Linked DNA regions of Homo sapiens: region 2 is linked to region 1. The links are contacts of gene promoters, found by promoter capture Hi-C in human tissues and cell types (Jung and others, 2019). All regions are on one chromosome and are shown on one strand. The core of a region is centred on a gene start or on the middle of the fragment in contact, and the rest is flanking DNA. Distances in the headings are between cores, read along the strand shown.

Region 1 (6,158 bases), core at 1,001-3,500:
ACTTTCTCACATTTCTCTGTGCACTTAGTCTGCTTCAAGGTGACCTTGGGATTTGACAGTGGAGTGCAGGGGTGGGAGGAACTTTTCCTCATAGGCACTTTGCTGTGACATTCTGGGGACACTCTGATGAGTAACTAGTCACCCTAACAACTCACTCCAGCATCCCCACACTGCACCATTAACACCAACACTCTGAGTAAGCCTTGCTCCCCAAGCCAGGTGCCTGAATCACTGCTGTAGTAACCTGTGCCTCTTGTTCCTCTGCCTCACCTCTCTGACTCTCTGCCTTTCTTCATCTGAGCCTTTCCTCTCTCGGGTTCAGATTCTCCCTCCATTCCCCCAAGAAATGCTCAATTTCTCTGCACTTTCTAAGACTTCAATATGCCAGAACAGCCACTCCCTATCCATACTGGCCATCAAGGAAGCTTGGTCCCAAGCCTGGGTGGACACAGTGTCCCTGTACACTGGTGCTCAGCCCCTCTGATGACTGGGACATCCTACACATCTGTACCGTTAGAAGGCCCCAGATGCTGTTTCCATGGAGACCTAGTCAACCAAGAAGCCTCACCCCTTGGACTAGCTTCCTGCCTCCATTCACAACCAAAAAAATCAACCAAGGTTCTCCACAGACATCCAGCTCATAAAGGAGGACCTGAGGCTGTCAGTGATTCCCCATGTGATTCATATTCTTGCCTCTCAGTTCTGAGATGTTGGGATAGTATCAACAAGTGCAGAGCCTCTTCCCTGCCACCTTAGGAAGCCTCATACACTTGACCTCACTTCCCCATCGATCCCACAGCCAAAGCAGATACTGCCCTCCGACCTAGCAGCAAGAGCTCCACCTGCACTTCTAAAGCCACTGCTACCTCTGCCCCCCAGGGACCAAATATCCAGAGTTGCTCTCCTTCCCTAAGGCTGGAATATGCCAAGCCCGCTGGCCACCCCTACACATTAAGCCCCCAAGTTCCACCTTCCTCCCAACCAACAGGGCTGAGGCTGGTGGCTCCCAGGCCCACCCTCATGCTCTCCCACTGCCTCTCCACCCACTAGGGCCCAGGCAGAGCTGGTTTCTGGTAAGATGCACTATCTCATCCATGGTTGGGAGGCACAACTTCCTCTTCCAGGGGTTTTCCACTTAGAAATCCCATAAGGGTCTCCTTTCCACAACCCAGTTGGAAATGACCCCAAGCGGAAGTTTCTCCCAAGAAAATTTATAGTCATAATCATAGCGAATTTCCAGTTCACTGAGATCTCACTTTGCACCAGGTGCTTCTCATACATTATTTCATTTAATCCTTTCCACAGTCCTACACAGGAGCAACCCAGTGGAAGGATTCTTTCTCCTGTGGGCAGAGGAGGATTCTCCCCACACTCCTCAGCTCAGCCCCTCCCTTGGCACTCCTTCCCACCCACCCACTAGCTACCAATTAACCCATCAGCACCAGCATTTTGCACAGTTACTAAACAGGAACATGGTCCTGTTCCTCTGCCAGTCCCATCCCCTGGACCTCTCATAACTGTGGGCCAGGTCCCTTCTGTATTCTTCAATTCTCCTAACACTGCAACAGAGATCCATTCCTCTGACCCCTGTACAGCCCCAGATAGGACGAGGCCCACCTCCTGGTCAAAGGTCCTTTCAGTTTCCTCCTAAGCCTGCCCACCTCCTAAGGCTCTACCCAAAGTAACATCACACCCTAAACAACCTCACCTGTCACCAGGCAGTGGAAGGAGTGACCAAGGGCAGCCAGGCCACTCAGACCCCATGGACACCAGCCCTAGCTTTATTCCTTACAGTGGCCCCAGACAACAAAATCTTGGGGAGATCAAAAGTCAGGCTGGACTAAGGGATATTTGGGGCTGATCCTCCAAGGTGTCAAGAAGGGAATTCCATGAAATCAGACCATCAGCCCTGCAACTCTCTCCACATAGTCCAGTCCATTCCGGGACCAACGCCTGCACCCTCAGACAAGGACAACCCAAAAGTGCTCTGCGGCTTTAGGACAGAGCTCACCCTCCCTTGTCCCACGGCCCTGCCCTCTACCAAGTTCTCCAACTCTCTGCTTCTTTAGGCAAGATCCCGCCCCACCAGCAATCCCATGCCCGCCAGATAGTGACTTACCAGCCCAGGCCAGGCCACACAGCACGGCCAATACCAGGGAGATGCAGGCCCTCATGGTGCCCAGTTGGAGGCCAAAAAGGGAGTGGCTGTTGGACTTTCACTAGAGTCAGATGAATGTCACAGCTCTCAGACGAGCCTTATTCCTCAAGCTGATCCTTTTAAAGACACCAGGACTTGTGGAGCTGGTGTCTCCAGATCCTTTCAGGAAGAAAAAGGGGAGGGAGGGACCCTAGATGGATAGGAGGTGGGGCCCTACAGCTGTTTGAAGCCTGAGGGAAGGTGACTAAGAAGGTAGGTAATGCCAGATGTTGAGAACAGGTAATGCTAGCTGTTTGCAGCTTAAAAAATAGGTCATGCAGGCAGGCACACCAAGATGGGTCCAGTTTGGAGGGTTCTTTGTCCAAATTAGGGACACCCATGGGCTGATCTTTGGGTGATCCCCACCAAACAGACACCTACTTCCAAGTCTCAGACCTGACTTTCCAAGGGGCCACAGGTTGGATTCATCTTCAAATTCCTGGAGCTTAGCATGACACTGGCACACAGTAAGGTGATTGGTCCAAATTTGACAAACAGTAAGTGCCCAAGCAAGGGTTGGGGTCATTGGACAGAGAGATAGAGGATGTGTCGGTCAGAACCAGTGCTATTCTTATGACCACCAAGCCCAGCATAGCTAAATCAGCCACATGTCGAGCGCATGGCTAAATCACTCTAAAATATTATGCAAATGACTCTTACTGAGTCAGCCTCTGGGGTTTAAACGTTTCAGATTCCTTATGAGGCAGGGGAGGGGCAAGAGGCCTCTTAAAGGCAGCCGAAGGCCCACTCTTCTTCCCCTGGGAGCCCAGGGTTTCACTCCCTTCACCCCAACTTACACTCCTCTCCTCAGGAACTCCTCCCCAGTGAGGTTCTTTTGTTTCCAAGTCCAAAAGAAGGGGAGCAGCTCCCCGTGACTGTCCAGTTTTCCCCGATAATAAAGGTAAAATCTGCCAAGTATGATGCCCTTGCCAGAAAGAGCACTGCATGGGGATTCTCAACCCTCTCAGGAAAGAAAACTATCATATAAAAAGGCAAAATTGGTGAACAGTGGAGGCCACTCTATCAGTGATTTTTTTCTGGAGGTTGGGAGTGGAGCACGTCTTCATCCAGTGTGCTTTAACAGGAGAAGTTTCTTCCTCTCGCTGGTCTTCAGCTTTCTCATCTGAAATGATGGGGTTGGATCTGACAATCCCTTCCAGGTTCTCAGACTTTAATCTCGAGTTTTCCTGCCCATGCGCCAGGTTGAACAGTTGCTGGTGGGTTAAAGAGAATCCCCCAGCCTGTTGCTGTGTAGAGAGGAGTCCAAACATAGGGACTCAGGGGTAGAGAGAAGGACAAGCCTAGGGCAAGCAAACTTTGCAAGGGGCTCACACAGGAAGTGCAATGTATGTATATATTTTGAGATGGAATCTCTCTCTCTGTCGCCCAGGCTGGAGTGCAGCAGTGTGATCTCGGCTCACTGCAACCTCCATCTCCCCAGCTCAAGCAATTCTCATGCCTCAGCCTCCCGAGTAGCTGGGATTATAGGCATGCACCACCACACCTGGCTAATTTTTGTATTTTTAGTAGAGACCATGTTGGCCAACCTGATCTCAAACTCTTGACCTCAGGTGATCTGCCCACCTTGGCCTCCCAAAGTGCTGGGATTACAGGTGTGAGCCACTGCATCCAGCCCGGAAGCACAACTAAAGAGTGAGCCTAGCCCTTCTCTCCCAGAAGGGAGCTGGTTAGAATGAGTAAGAGCAGAAATGGCTGCTTCATTTGCATAGATTTCATTTACACAATCCAAAAGCAGGCTGAAGAGTCACTGCCCCTCAGAATCCTCATCCTCCCTGGGTTGGCACCACATAAACGTGTCTCTGACTCCTGTTGTTTAGGGGACAAAGGAGGGTGTCACTGGCTGGCCTGGGAAGCAATGATGCCTCAGAATTTGGGAATGAATGGTCTGTCCCTTCCAAGTGTCCAGCTGGGTGGACCCTAGCTGAAGCCAAAGCTGTCAGAGTGGAGTACAGCCTGGCTAGGTTCTCCTAGTGTCCAGCTGAACTGGCCATGGGATGGTGTTTTGAGGGCAGGAGCTCTCCCCCCATTAATGGAATTTTAGGTCAGGAGCAAGGATTGGAGCTGGGGAAGACAGTTAAGGATGACTCCATAGAGCCAGATGGTTCATCTGAGTACCCAAGTGTTTAAAACTGCATCCTTCAATAAGAATAACAGCCTTAACAACCACCAGCAACATTGACTGAGCACTTACCACGTGTGTTATCATATGTGTTATCTCATTGATTCTCACTACAACCTTAATAGGTACTATTGCTGTCCTCATTTTACAGATGAAGAAACTGAGGCACAGAAAGGTTAGGAGACGTGCCCAGAAGCACACAATCATTAAGTTATGCAGCTGTGCCTCAACCCAGATCCATCTGACCAGGGGTCATTCTCATAAGCACCGTTGCTCCATTGCCCCACAACATCACACTTTGAACGACCACTTAATCATGTCTGGTTACTATACAAAGCAGTCTAGATTTAAATTCACTGGAATTAAAGGGACCTCAACTGCCATCTAGTTCCACTTCTCATAGGATGTCACAACTCCCTAAACAACCCTAAGTGCTTGTCCTGCCTCTCCTTCATTGCCTCTGGTGCTGAGGGTTGAGGGGTGGGGAATTGGGATATGCCCTCCCACGGCTGCTCATACGCCCTCTTCGCAGATCGGATTCCCAAACCCCAGATTTTATAACCGAAGACATGCTGACAAAGGCAGAAAAAATCCATTAAGCCAATAAATGAAAATATATCAATACATATTCATGCAAAGATGCCTCATAAACTTAGATGTCCATGTATGTGTGTATACACACACACACACACACACACACACACACACAAAAAGAGAGAGAGAGAGAGAGAGAGAGAGAGAGAGATACATTAAGATAGATTTCAGGCAGCTTTCTCTTCCCTGCTAGCCTGTTGTGGACCAAGAACTCTGCGGCTCCTCTTTCTGAGTACCCCCCGCCATTAGGTACTCACATGGGCTTTCCATCCTTGCAGACTTCCCAAGAAGCCACAGTGGGACCAGCCAGCAAGTTGGGAATTGTGGTAGGCTGGGTCCTGGAGAGCTGGGGTAGGGAGAGAGTGGAGGGAGATGCATGGTGGATGGTGTCTCAATGATGAGAATAGCGACAGAGATGGTGCAGTTGTGTCCTCTGTGGAGGTCTGGAGAGTGGGGAAGAGGGTGAGGCTGCTTGGGCAAGGATTTGGGAGGCACTCAGCTGTGAGAGACATAGAGGGTGGGAATTCCATCAGCCAAATATTTATCGAGTGCTCACTACACATCAGGGGCTATGCTGTTATTGGACTGGCAGGGTTCAGGCTAGGCTGGAAAACTCTTCCTGGAACTGATTGGTTTCTGGTGGGACAGAAGCCAGATAAGCCTCAGCATTAGGGCATTGTTTGAAGTAGGCCTCATTCATCTCTGGGCTACCACAGGTGTCTGGGGTCTGTCAGGATCAACAGGCCTTGAGAGAGACTGACCCAGAGGACTACTAAAAGGGACACCTGCCCAGGCCAGCCTATTCTACCATCCTCGTTCTCCTGCAAAACCAAGGCCACGTCATTTCAGCAGAGGACCTGCGTGTGGAAGGACCCTGCAGCTGGCCCATCACAGGAGAGGCCCAGACTCACCTCCCAAGGGGACCCTGGCACATGAAGATGCTGGTTCTCCTGGGAGTGCTGCCCTGGCCCACAGGATAGAAGCGCAGGATGGTCACCCATGTCTGCTCTTATTGAATGTGTCTTAGAAGCGGCTCCATGTGTGATTTCTTTCCCACATTGGTTAGTATGGTGTATACCACGTTTGTGTTCCCAGGCTTTTGTTTAAGTTTGTGGGCAGCCCTGACATCAGCATCACACTCAATGCCTGGGCTGAGCATATCCGTCAGACCTCCCAACTAGGCCCACTCATCACATAGTCCCATGCTGCACTTCTAGTTCTGCCAGC
Region 2 (6,578 bases), core at 1,140-3,639, 1.4 Mb before region 1:
CTGCTGTTTCCTGAACATCTGAACACTTAAAGATCATTTTATATCTTATGGTGAAAAAAATGTCCCCAGGGTATTTTGAAAATATACACTGTATTTTTAAAAAGCCCCTTCAAAACCACCACCAACTTAGTATTGTTCTACTGGTGTTTCCCTTCTTCCAGAAGATGAAAATCTCACCAATATTCACATGTCTAAAAACTCCTTCCTACTGAAAGCAGAGCAAGTGATTACTTACTGGGAAAATAACTACTGGTACTGTCAGGGTCACAGCCATTAACACAGCCAGACGGACAATGAGAAGAAGAATATCAGTTCCCAAGATAGAAGAGTAGGTATGAAGCAATTCTGACTCAACATGTTCTACAGGGAAAGACCAAAAAAACTTTGATTGGCTGTTTTCATTGGACACCAAGTAGAAAATTTAACAGCAAAATGTGCACCAGTTATTTAGCTACTCACAAAACGACTATAAACTAAGAGGCTAATAAGATTTGTTTGGAATTATAGTTAATGCAATTAAAGTAACATTGAAGGAAAATTTTTCTAAATACCACAGAGATTTAGCCACATGACTCCCATTAAAAACAACAGGAGTTAAGCAGCTAAATCTCCTGGCTTGGCTTGCAATTTGTGTTTGTGTTACATAGTCTGAAGGTGATGGGAGAGGAGACAGGCAATATGAACTCAGAGGCTGGCATATCATACAAATATGCCATCAAATGATTAATGATATTTTCAAACCTGGATTCTAGAAATTACTGATTAAATACACTACAGAAAATTCTAAGCTCTAAATTTAATTTCTCATCACAAATATGAAATATATTAAAACAGACTATTTTTAAAGTGATGGAACTACACATAGAAAACTAGCAGCTTCATTTCAATAAGCGTTTTTTTTTGTTTTTGTTTTTGTTTTGGTAAAGGAGGCGTTACTTACCGTAAAATGTTAGGTATCCAAAGAGGGCGGCAAGCAGATACATGAGAAACATAGCAAAAAATGAAATCTTGGACACATTCATCATTCTTCTACGGCTGCGGCTATGTAATTCAAGAGAAAATTCAAATATATATTTCAGCAGCAGTTACAGCAATTGTCTAATATTTTCTCAAATTTATGTAAAAATGAAATACTCACTCTTTCAGTTCTTCATAGATGGGAAGAACAGCAGGATGACAGACAAATGAAAAGATCAGAATTGGCACAGCATAGACAGTCTGAAAGAAAACGTAAAAATCTACTTAATCTGATGTAACGAACTCATGCTGTCACATTTCCGCAGCATATATTTTATGTAAACAATCTTAGAATCAAAGCCTAAGTTTCCTTTGTGTAATTAGCTTCCATTCTTCTAATCTGTTCATGAAGTATGATCAATATCCTCACTTCTGAATGTGTCAATTATTAGCACCATATGATTATCTCAATTCTCAATCTATTTTCAGATGTAAACCAAAACTTTCTTCACAGTCCTCAATAATTAGCTAATCACATGTTTTCTATAAAGCACCTATTATCCTCCTCCCTTTACCCTGGGAGTGAATAGCTTCCCTCTTTTCTTCCCTAAACTCTTCTTTTGAGAAAATAAGCATATTTAGTTACCTGTGAGTTGAAAATAAAATAGTGAGGTCTGCAAGAGTCATTTTCAGTCACGTTATGTGACAAAGCAGGTACAAGAGCTGTTGGCTGTGTTAAGGTGGTGTTTATTGTTTCGTTAATTATCAAAGCAGCTTCCACAGGACACGGAACCTGAAATTTCTTGCAAATGACCTAAAAATATATTATTTTGCATGTGTTAAACTAAGTGACATGGCAGGGCTTATAAAAAATTTTTTCTAAAAAAAAAATCATACCCACCACAATCAGAAAGAACACCATACACAACAAGGAAAGGCCACTGGTATATCCCAAATATCCTATAAGGAGGGGTGGCAGGAATCAGTATTAGTTTAATGAAACAGATTTAAGGCAAATATCTTTTTCCCACTGAATAACTCAATTCTGCTGGGAAGACTTTAGGCACTAAAGTATGTGTATAGCACTAAATTTCTAATTCTTATGATACTAAATTATAGATTTATTTAAATATACTTGTCATAACCCAAGCTAATAAAAACTATCATTTGCATTATTTCTTACAAAGCACAACATATAGTGTCAATTAAATATTTTGGCTCCTAAATTTTGCATGCTGTAAGTCCCAAAGATATACCTTTCTACTTTCTAGGGCTTTTTCATTCTGATTAATTTCTATTCAGAGAAAGCCCAACTAACTGGTGAGAGGCTCATTTCAATTCTCTTTAGAGATGAGTTTGCTCACCTAAATTTCTAAACAGCGACAAAGGAAGAATGACCACCAATGACACCAACAGAACCAAATAGTTCCCGTTCAGATACCACAATCTAAAGAAAACAGAAACAAGGTCAAAACAGTCACAAATATCCTCTGAAAAATATACACATCTTCTAACAGGACTCATTTCATAGGAATACCATGAAAACAAACACACAAAAAAGACATGTTTGGAAAAAGTTTCCCCTGTTCAAGATAGGAATAACTTTTTAATTTTGTGTGCTAGATGAACATTTACTCAGGTTAGAAGTCGGGTATAAAACAGTGTAACTTTTGTCCCACTACTTGCTCTGGGAAGGCTGCCAGCTGATTCATAACACAAAATGCTTCTCAAAGACTTGATACTAATGCAGGGAACAAAGCTTGTTTGTTAAGCCAGTAATCTTATCTTTAAGCACTTTCAGAAAAATTGTACACCAACTTTGGTACAGCTTTAGCATGTAATTTCTAATGCTGGAAACTAAAAAATTTTAAAACAAGTTTTTTTCCAGATGCGTTAGCAAATATTATTAAATATTTCAATGAGGAAACGTTTTCATAAAATGCACAGGCAAACTGCCCCCCCCATAAAAAAAATTATAAAACTCAGTCCCCCAAACCAGGACTTATTCCAGGTTATCAGAGTATGTTGTGACATCTTGACCCACCTTTAACTCCAAAGACAGCCAAAAATATCCCTTTTGAACTTTAGAAAACATTATGTATATCCTCTAAGCCTTTTTCTTTTTAGGTAAATCATGAATTGCACTGTCTTCTAAATCACTATTTTCAAATTCTAATTGCCTCATGAATTCTGTTCACTTCAGCAGTAAGCACTCTGCAGAACACCAACACTTAAAGATCAGCTTAAAAAATTAAATTTCTAAAGCCACATCTGAGATAACAGCACTTCTCTATTTTGACGTAATGAGCTGCACATAGGGTGGGAAGTAAATTATCCTTCCCCATGTTTACTTTAGATAAATACCTGTGAGTTCACTGGGATGAGTAACTTTGCTAGAAGAAAATGGTTTCTATAGCATGCCCAAACATTTTCTGGCACATGTTGAGTATCCCTTATTCAAAATGCTTGGGACCGAAGTGTTTTGGACTTTGGAGTACCTGCACATACATATTTGAAGTATCTTGGAGATGGCACTGAAGTCTAAACACAAAATTCACTTATGTTTCCTATACACCTTCTTAAACCCATAGCCTAAAGGTGATTTTATACAGTATTTTAATTAATTTTGCACACCTGTCACGAGATCAGGTGTGGATTTTCCACTTGTAGTGTCATGTTGGCACTCAAAAAGTTTTGGATTTCAGATTAGGGATGTCCAGCCTGTATTTTGCATTGAACAGATTAAGTCTTAAGAATTCCAAACTTACAAAAATAAGACGGATTAATTTTTAATGTAATTCAAAGCTTCAGTCCTCACTTAGGATATATATTAAAAACACCTATAACTTCTTTAAGTATGAACATAAAGACAGAAAGCAAGTTCTAGAAAACCTGTTTTAGAAATTAAGATATCCAAAATTGTAGGGCTAGCTACTATCTTTCGGCCTTTCCTTCTCCAAAGTTCGAATCAGTTTACGGGGATGGGGGGCCTTCTTGGTCAGTTTCAAAAGGAACATTTATGGATAATTAACTAATCATTTTGTATACAACTTTGATAAAAATGTATCTAACCACTTTTGACTATAATTGTTTCTTATGAGTAACCTTACTTAGCACCTACCCAGTTTTATCTTCAATGTTCGTTAATGCCTGGATCACCAAAGGCAACTCATATTTCACTATGAAGAGGTAGCTTGACATAGCTGGAGGAAAACAAAATTATACCATTACAAGTGCAAAACGCGGCACGTGACACTAAAACGCATGTGTCACCATTCTGTGCTCCACAATGAGCATAAAGTCTACCCAAATAATCTTTTGAAAAATTCTTACCTCCAATGTTCTGCATTGTAATTGATCCAGATGCTGCAAGCTTTCCAACTAATCCAAATGCCTTATATCCCAATTGTTCATATAATAAAGACCCTACAATTTGAAGACAGAAGCATGAAGCCAAGGATTTTAAAAGAGAAATAAAATGATAGGTATACATTGTTTTAGAAAAATCAAGAATGCTATCATACCTCCTTCATTGGCAGTCTTCAAAAGGAGATGAACAGAATACAGGGAAAATATTGACACAAATGTCAAGAGAATTCTGGTGAGAGAAGGAAAAGGCATAGGGTTATAAATAAGCATGGCTATATTTAAAGACAACTCTTTCTGGATGTTTAAATAACATTATGTGTGCAACTTGTCCTATTTGTGTCAAAATGCCCTGAAGAACTGGCATTTCCTCTCCTACTAACTGGAATGGCAACACTGTCTCTTGGCTGGCAGTAAAAACTTGCATCATTTCTCAGGTGATAGTTCTACAGCATTGGTTAGGAACAAGGATGTCTACCCACTGAGCCAAACATAGCATGAGACACTGGAAAGCTCAACTTCCCAGTGATGGAGTTTGAAACTTGTATTTTGATTCTGGCACCACAATAATGAGCTGTATGCTTGCCACCTTTCTGCATTTCAGTAGTTCCCCTTATCTGTAAAATATTAGTAATATCCGCCACTAAACCCAGCCCACAAGGTTCTTGGGAAATTCAACTGAGACACGTTCAGGAAAGGTTTTAAGACCACATGGACCGTATACACAAAAACAGGAATGACAGGCCAGGTGCAGTGGCTCATGCCTGTAATCCCAGCACTCTAGGAGGCTGGGGCAGGATGACTGCTTGAGGCCAGGAGTTCGAGATCAGCTTGGACAACATAACATAGGGAAGCCACATCTCTACCGAAGGAAAAACAAAAAGCCAGCTGTGGTGGTGTACACCTATAGTCTCAGCTACTCAGGCTGAGGTGGGGGTATCACTTGAGCCCAGCAGTTTGCCACTGCACTCAGCCTGGAGGACAAAATGAAATACTGTCTTTTTAAAAAAAAAAGAAAGAAAAGGAAAAGAATGGTAAGGGGGAAATGACACTAACATGATACTAACATTTTAAGAGGCACTACAAGCTTTACTAACAACTGGGCACAAATCAGAGAACTAACCATTGTGATGACATACTACATTGCACCCCATGGCAAGGAATACAGGCCCACTATTGTCACAGTTAAACAATGTCTGTGCTAGAACAAGTAGGCTATCAGCTTGACTGTCTCTAAGCCTTTCCTCCCTTGACCCTTTCACTTGGATTGAGCAACAGAAAAAAAATAAATAAATAAGGTAACATAGAGTGACTAAAGGGACCCTAATGTCACCTAATTTTCCTTTAGGGTAAGGGTTCTCCCTCATTCCAGCTTTACTTTCCTTCCACCTAGGAGAGCCCAGAGATACAGACTAATTTTTTAAAGAAATTAAATAACAAAACAGGGAAACTCATAGAAAACCTTGCAAAGGAGAAGAGTTACATGTTTTTTAATTCCGTATGAACAAACTGCACGCAGTACCATGTAAGGTGCTGACAAAGAAACTGATGTCTATTAGTTAAACAGAGGAAGTGGCTTTACACTACCATTCTAAATGCCAGAAGTTTTACAGGACCTAGTCTGAAGTGACACTATCAACCTCACTTCTAACTGGAGAAAATATGTTGGTTTAATTAAAAACAAACCAAATTAAGTCCTTCCATGTCTTATACTGAAATGACAAGGGATGAATAGACTTTATAACCTTTGAGGTCACTTTCAACCTTCAGATTGATTCTACTTAAACAGGTTAGCTACAGGGTTGCTGAAGTGCACCGTGGCAGCCATGTGGTTTTTGGCCCATTTTCCTCTATACCTCTAAATATAAAGTAAGTACTGATGAATAAAATCACACTTTAGCAATCTTATTTAGCCATTAAGCAAAATGGTAAATCAATGACATAAGCACCTATTAAAGTATAATTCCAAGAGTACAAGGGTTACATCAGAATTTGACCTTCACTTATGAAACAGAGGTGCCATTTAGTATCATTTCAATTCTTACTTTAACTACACTGGCTGCACTCTAAAACTGCCTCCAGTTTTTATACCAAGTGCTAACAAGGATTTCAAATATTCGACAGTGATGCCATTCAGGTTCTCCACTAAGAACTCCTGAGATTCTAGGATTCTACGTAAATCGCTGGTCCTTCACCTTAGTAAGAGTTCTCTCAAAAAGCCTCATCCTAATTGAAGCAAGCCAGAGTGAATCCTA

Evidence for each region. The method cuts DNA at HindIII sites, captures the fragments that hold promoters and counts their contacts. A contact is called where the count stands out against the background at its distance.
Region 2: a fragment that was not itself captured here is called in contact with the fragment with the promoter of ENDOU in region 1 in 1 of the 25 tissues and cell types used here (dorsolateral prefrontal cortex).

The regions. Positions count from the first base shown.
Region 1 is chr12:47,723,240-47,729,397 of GRCh38, forward strand. It overlaps ENDOU (endonuclease, poly(U) specific), which reads right to left and starts at 2,251. Exons shown (of 10, transcript NM_001172439.2): 1 at 2,120-2,251. The coding sequence starts at 2,174. RPAP3-DT (RPAP3 divergent transcript) reads left to right here. Exons shown (of 4, transcript NR_183480.1): 4 at 5,648-6,158. RefSeq lists silencers at 2,766-2,885, 3,851-3,910. The HindIII fragment of the contact is 12,082 bases long and covers 1-6,158 here.
Region 2 is chr12:46,362,786-46,369,363 of GRCh38, forward strand. It overlaps SLC38A2 (solute carrier family 38 member 2), which reads right to left. Exons shown (of 16, transcript NM_018976.5): 5 at 4,482-4,555; 6 at 4,291-4,383; 7 at 4,079-4,160; 8 at 2,322-2,404; 9 at 1,859-1,917; 10 at 1,604-1,771; 11 at 1,139-1,218; 12 at 941-1,041; 13 at 236-360. Among named protein-coding and RNA genes, the nearest start is that of SLC38A2, 6.7 kb to the right of the region's middle. The HindIII fragment of the contact is 4,962 bases long and covers 1-4,870 here.